Regions from separate parts of the Homo sapiens genome. Here region 2 is linked to region 1. The links are contacts of gene promoters, found by promoter capture Hi-C in human tissues and cell types (Jung and others, 2019). All regions are on one chromosome and are shown on one strand. The core of a region is centred on a gene start or on the middle of the fragment in contact, and the rest is flanking DNA. Distances in the headings are between cores, read along the strand shown. Region 1 holds the start of THY1 (Thy-1 cell surface antigen). Region 2 has its middle 16 kb from the start of TRIM29.

Region 1 (3,295 bases), core at 408-2,907:
ACCGTTTCCGTTTGCAGATTACTGGCATATAGCATACACTCCAAAGATATTTATTGTGAATGAATGAATGAATCTCTCTGAATCTTACATACCCACCGGGTTATGATGGGGGTTAAGAAAAACAACCAACATCTGGCGATGACTGCTTCATATACGTGAGACACAAATCCCTAAGTCACTCGCCATCCCCAGTGGATGGCTAGATACCATTCACCATAGCTAAGGATGCTCCCAGATAGGGAGCATCTATTCCTATCTGGATAGGACACAAGCTAATCGTGTTCCTGGAGGAGAGAAAGACATAGTGATCTCCGATTGTATGTGAGCCAAGGATGCTTCCCAATGTCCAGCTCTCTGGAGTTCCTGGGACTGCAGTTTTCCAGCCCAGTTTCAATAGCCACCCTGGATAGGCTGTCTGCCTGGTCTTTTTTTGTTTTTTGCAGCCTTGGCTGAACCAACCCTTGGCGAGGCGACGCGGAGCCGGTAGTCTAGCCTATCTGCAGAGCAGTGCTCGCCCAGGAGAGGCCACAGAAGGGGCGTGCACCCGCGAGAGCGCGCAGGGCATTGCCTCGGTTGAGTGCGCCCGGGTGCGCAGGGCGCACCACTAGACGAGTTCAGGGTCCCTGGCGCTCAGCCCCTTGACGGGTGAGGCTAGGATCCCGCGGCGGCTGCAGCTACAATCAATGCTCTCTCTGTCCCGGGGTGGAGCTGCTGCCCTGAGCCAGATCCAGGAGGAAGGGGGGTCGGCATCTGGCTTTTGAATCGAGGACTCTTGTTTGAGATGTTGTGCGGGCTTGGGATCTAGGAGGGGAAGGGGGAGCAATGGCCAGAGCAAGAAAGGGAAGAAATGGGTCTGGGGCTGGAGAGGGTAGAAGAGCCAGGGGAGGGGTGGAGAGCGGCTGGGGAGGTGCAGTCTGTATTCATTTCCTCTGGTCTGTGTCCTCAGGCGGCTCCAGACCCAGAGAAGGTCTGCTCTTCCTCCCTCTCAAGCCCCCGGCGGGCCTCATCCTTAATCCATTTCCGTATTCCAATCCTCTCCTTTCCCAAATGAGTCCCCCTTCCCCCTCTCTCATCCTTTTCCAGCTCTCCCCTCCCCCGTCCGCCCGCCTTCCACCCAGTCCCCGCCTGCGGCACTGCGGCTTCCTTCTCCTCCGGTGCCCCGCACCCAGCCCGCCGCGAGGTCACCCGGCAGATTCCCTCTAGCTCGCCATCCTCCATCCTCTCCCCGCAGTTTCATCCGTCCTCCTCCCCGCCTCTGCGAGCTGGGTTTGGGGACGTCTGGGTGGAATGTAGACCCACAGGCTGTCCTTGGTGCCCTTCCTCCCTGTTCTCCAGCGCCCCAGCCCCAGACACCAGTCCCCCAGCGGGCGAAAGCCCGGGAGCGCCTTCCCCGAAAGACATCAGGGTGCCACGCGGCCCCTGCCCTGCAGAAGCATCCCCCTCCCGCCCCTGCCTGGAAAGCAGGCCCCTCCCTAAGCTCTGCGCCCTTCTTCCCTGGGCGCCCTCGGACCGTGGCCCGAAGCCTAGTGTTGGGAAGTCTTGCATGGGCGCCTGACGGCGGTCCCCGAGCCCCAGGTCCCACCGGCTCCAGTTCCCACCTGGACTGGGGTCTTCCGCTGCTGCAGCCTCCTCCAGACGCGCCGCCGCCTCCGGTTGCTGCACCCAGCTCGGAGCCCGCAGTTTTCACCGGGGATGGAGGAGAGGGGGAGCGGGGAGCCGGGGGCTCAGCCAATCAGAGGCGGAGATTGGGGGAGAAAGGACGGCAGGGTGGGGTGGGGGGTGGGGAAGGAAGAGAAGGCGGTCCCGCATTGGTGTGAGAGTGGCAGGTTGCGGCGGAAGGGGGCCCTCACCCTGTGGCTGGCAGGCCTGGCCAGGGACGGGAGGGTTCGGGACCCCGGGGATCAGGGTGCGGCAGCCCAAAGAACATTATCCTCCTCCCTGAGCCCCGCAATGGTTGTTCCCCTTTTAAGGCTTTAACCCTTTCTTCTGACCTATTCTTCAGGAGTCTGTGGGAAAACCAAAGTGTAAGAGGTGCAGGATGCAGGCCGGGAGCGCCCACGCCTCCACATTTCCTTTTCAGCTGGAGCCCACCTCCTCCGGAGCCTCCAGTGAGAAGTTTTGGAATATTCCAGTCTTTCTGAAAGGAAGCTGGTTGGGTGTTTTTCAGTGTTGGAGCAGCCCTTCGGAAGCGAGGCAGGTGCTGGACCCACCCTGTCCGTCCCTGGTCCCCAGCCCCATTTCGCCCCCTCATCTATTCCAGAGCACCCAGCCCTTCAGGGGGCTGCAGGCGCTTTTTGCTCTGGGCATTACGTCTTCTTCAGCCCCTGGGCTGGCACCTTCTGGTCCAGACAGCTGGAAGGTTCTTCTGGCTTTCCTGAGTACAGTCTGCTTGTTTGGTCTTCAGACCAGGAAGGGAGTGTTGCCTTTTAGCAGGCACTGTGCTGGGCACATTACATTCATGGCGACCTTTAACCCATGGCCGCCTGCTGGGTTCATCCCATCTCAATCCTCACCTCCTGTCTTGGCTGGTAAGTGGGAGAGCTGGAGAACTGACCTGGGCTATGGACCCCAGCTCTCAAGGGTGAGCCATTCCTCTTGCTCATCCCTGCCTAGTGGGAGAAGAGAGAGAGGAACTCTGGGAAAGAGGAGGAGACAGCACAAAAAGGACTGAGTCGAGGCCAACTCCTGATCACCTGGGGCACTCCTGATAACCCACCGATTGGATGTCACCAGAAGCCCTAGGCTCATTTTTAGAGACAGTGCTGATGACTTTCTCTCACTCACAGGTGTAGTGAATTTTTTTGAACTAACGTTTATTTGATTGATTTGTATCCTGCCAGCCTCTTTATGAATTCTGATCACGACATTCTGTGGGCCTCCCCAATGTCTGCCTGCCTGTTCTCCTATTTCTTCATGGAAGTCAGCCCTGGCACCTTCCCTGCAGTTTCTGATACTGCAGTGGCACTGTTGGAAGCCACTGTTGGAAGCTTGCAAGTGGGAGGAGATTCGCTTGGTTTCCCAGCATTTAGGGTGATGGAACACTCTAACTGGAATGAGCCTTGCAGATGGTTAAGTCCAAAGGAGCTATTCACTTTGGTAAACTGCAGAGGTTTCTAGGGCATTTTATGAAAAATGCAGCTGGCCTTGCCCACCTAGGACCTCCTTAATCTAGTACTAGAGCCAGCTGAGTCTGCACTTTTCTCACGCTCCCCAGGATCTGGGGACTCTAACACATGATCTGGTAAGACTGTCCCTCTTCATAGGTGAGCTAACCTGGCTTCTTGTTTGTAGGATA
Region 2 (3,478 bases), core at 92-2,591, 730 kb after region 1:
ATTCTGTTCAGTGATCTAAATGTTTACTTTATTCCATAATACACTATCTAATTACTACTACTTTGTTGTAAGTCTTAAAAATCAGGTAGTAAGTCCTCCAAGCTTGGTCTTCGTTTTTCATAATTTTTTGTACCTATTATGATCCATGGCATTTCCATATGAACTTTAGGATCAGATTACAAAATTCTTCAAAAATCTGCTCTGATTTTGACTGAGAGTACATTAAATCTGAAGATCAATTTGGGGAGAATTGACAGCTTAACAATAGCAAGTCTTAATAATATCAATACATACCATGAACATGGTATGTTTCTCTATTTATTTAGATCTTCTTTAACTTCTCCCAGCAGTTTTGTAGTTTTTAGTGTACTATACAAATTTTTGCTAATTTACTCTTAACTAGTTCATGTTTTCATGCCATCATAAATGTTATTTTCCATTTAAATTCCAATTGTTAGTTTCTAGTATATAGAAATACAATTAGGCCAGGCACAGTGGCTCACACTTGTAATACTAGCATATTAGGAGGCCAAGGTGGCAACTCCAGCTAGAGGCCAGGAATTTGAGAACAGCCTGGGTAACGTAGCAAGACCCTGTCTCTACAAAAAATTTAAAAATAAAAAAGTCAGTCAGGTGTGGTGGCACAGGCCTGTAGTCACAGCTACGTGGCAGGCTAAGGTGGGAGGATTGCTTAAGCCCAGGAGCTTAAGGCTTCAGTGAGTCATGATTGTGCCACTGCACTCCAGCCTGGGTGACAGACTGAGGCTCCCTCTCAAAAATAATAATAATAATAATTAATTTTTGTGTATTGAACCCATATCCTGCAACATTGCTAAACTCATTTATTAACTGTAGTGTCTTAGCTTGCTTGTGGATTTCCTAAGATTTTCTAGAGAGAAAATTATATTGTTTATAAATAAAAACAATTTTGAATCTTCTCATCTGTGCCTTTTTTCTTTTTCTTGAATTCTTGCACTGGCTAGGACCTCCAGTACACTGTCGAATAGAAATAGTTATAACAGACTTACTTGCTTTGTTCCTAATCTGAGAGGAAAAACATCCCATTTTTCACTACTAAGTATAATGTCAATTGTAGGGTATTTTTAAATAGATGCCCTTTTCCAGATTGTGTAAGTTCCCTTGTATCCCTAATTTGCTAAGATTTTATCATGAATCTTGATAAATTTGTCTTGTTGAATTTTGTCAAAAGCTTTCCCTGAATCTACTGACATGATCATGTTTTTTTCCTTTTTAGATCTGTTTATATGATACATTCATTTTCTATTGCTGCCGTAACAAGCTTAGTGGCTTAAAACAACACAAATTTATTATCTTATAGTTTTGGAGGTCAGAAGCCCAAAATGGGCTAAAATCAAGATGTTGGCAGGGCTGCATCTTTTCTGAAGGCTCTAGAAGATAACCCGTTTCTTTGCCTTTTCCAGCTTGTAGAGGCTGCACATGTTCCCTGGCTCATGACTTTTTCCATCTTCAAAGCCAGCATTTATATCACTCCAATCTCTGCTTCTGTCATGACACATCTTTTTGTCTGACTCTCCTGCCTCCCTCTTTTAGGTACAAGGATCTTTGTGATTACATTGGGCCCATCCTGATAATCCAGAATAATCTCCCATCTCAAAATCCTTAACAATCATATCTGCAAAATATCTTTTGCTACATAAAGTAGTATATTCACAAGTTCTGTGGATTAGGACATAGATATTATGACTACCACATATGATAAATTATAGATTGACTTTTTAAAAATTGTGGTTAAAAACACATAACACTTACCATTTATCATTTTTGAGTATACAGTTCAGTAGTGTTAACTACATTCACATTGTTGTATAACAGATCTCTAGAAGTTTTTCATCTTGCAAAACTAAAACTCTATACCCATCAAACAACAACTCCCCATTCCCCCTTCCCAACTCGACGAAACCACCATTCTACTTTCTGTTTTCATGACTTTGACTACTTTAAATATCTCATATAAGTGGAATCATACACTATTTGTCCTATTACGACTGCTTATTTTACTCAACAGAGTGTCTCCAAGGTTCATTCAAGTTGTATATAAATTGACTTGTGAAACTAAAAGTAGATCTACCATTCAATCCAGCAACCCTACTACTGGGTAACTACCCAGAGAAAAAGAAGTCATTATACAAAAAAGACACACACATACATGCAGGCATACTCACGCTGATAGCAGCACAATTTACAATTGCAAAGATATGGAATCAATCTAAGTGCCCATAGACCAATGAGTGGATAAAGAAAATGTGATGTGCATACACTGTGGAATGCTACTCAGCCATAAAAAGGAAAGAAATAATGTCTTTTGCAGCAATTTGGATGGAACTGGAAGCCATTATTCTAAGAGAAATGACTCAGGAATGGAAAACCAAATACTGTATATCCTTACTTGTAAGTGGGAGCTAAGCAATGAGGATGCAAAGACATACAGAGTGATATAATGAACTTTGGGGATTTGTGGGTGGGGAGGTTGGGAGCGAGGTGAGGGATAAAAGACTTCATACTGGGTACAGTTACACTGCTCAGGTGATGGGTGCACTAAAATCTCAGAATTCACCACTATAGAATTCATCCATGTAGGTAAAAACCACTTGTACCCCCAAAGCTATTTAAATAAAATAAATAAATAAAGATTTTAAAACTTAAAAAAACTGACTTTTGAATGTTAAGCCAACCTTGAATTCCTAGGATAAATCCCATTTGATCACACTTTGTTATTCTTTGTATATATTGCTGATTTTTTTTCTGCTAAAATTCTGTTTAGAAATGTTTCCTCCCCGTCTCTTTTCTGCAACAGTTTTTGTAGAATTGGTATTTTTTTAAAAATGTTTAGCATCCCAGAAATGGCTTGTACTGGCCCATGACAATGTACTTTCAAATTCTCAGAAATTTTGTAAGCCAGCTGTTAAATACAGCCAGTATTAAAAATTAAATAAATTATGTTAAAAGCAAAAGTAATCCATATGGAATGAATACTTATCATATCTTAAATATTTTGCTACATTTTATTAATATCAATGCTATTAGGATATTTATGACTTTCATTTATATGGTATTATCTTTATATATATTTGTGCATATATATGCACATCTCTTTTTATCTCCATGATGATTGACATCACATTGGTAGCATGAAATTGACCATAGCGGGAATATTTACACTATGGAAAGTGGCAAATGCTACAAAACAGGTTGTTGTTTTTTCTAGAGTGCCAGGTGTAAAACATTTACCAATACACCTGGGGGTAGAATGCACTCGTGAAACCACTTGATCCTGGAGTTTTCTTTATGAAAAAGGTTTCACTTTTTAAAAACTATGAATGTAATTCCTTTAACAGACATAAGATATTCAAATTATTTCTTATTGAATGACCTTCATAGTTTGTGTTTCAAAGATTATGTCCATTTTATCATCTAAGTCACTGAATTTATTGGCATG

What was found. The method cuts DNA at HindIII sites, captures the fragments that hold promoters and counts their contacts. A contact is called where the count stands out against the background at its distance.
Region 2: a fragment that was not itself captured here is called in contact with the fragment with the promoter of THY1 in region 1 in 2 of the 25 tissues and cell types used here (dorsolateral prefrontal cortex and hippocampus).

The regions. Positions count from the first base shown.
Region 1 is chr11:119,421,515-119,424,809 of GRCh38, forward strand. THY1 (Thy-1 cell surface antigen) reads right to left here and starts at 1,658. Exons shown (of 4, transcript NM_006288.5): 1 at 1,599-1,658. All of the region lies in intron 2 of USP2-AS1 (USP2 antisense RNA 1), which reads left to right. RefSeq lists enhancers at 404-970, 971-1,536. The HindIII fragment of the contact is 13,176 bases long and covers 1-3,295 here.
Region 2 is chr11:120,152,743-120,156,220 of GRCh38, forward strand. No RefSeq gene overlaps it. Among named protein-coding and RNA genes, the nearest start is that of TRIM29, 16 kb to the left of the region's middle. The HindIII fragment of the contact is 4,875 bases long and covers 1-3,478 here.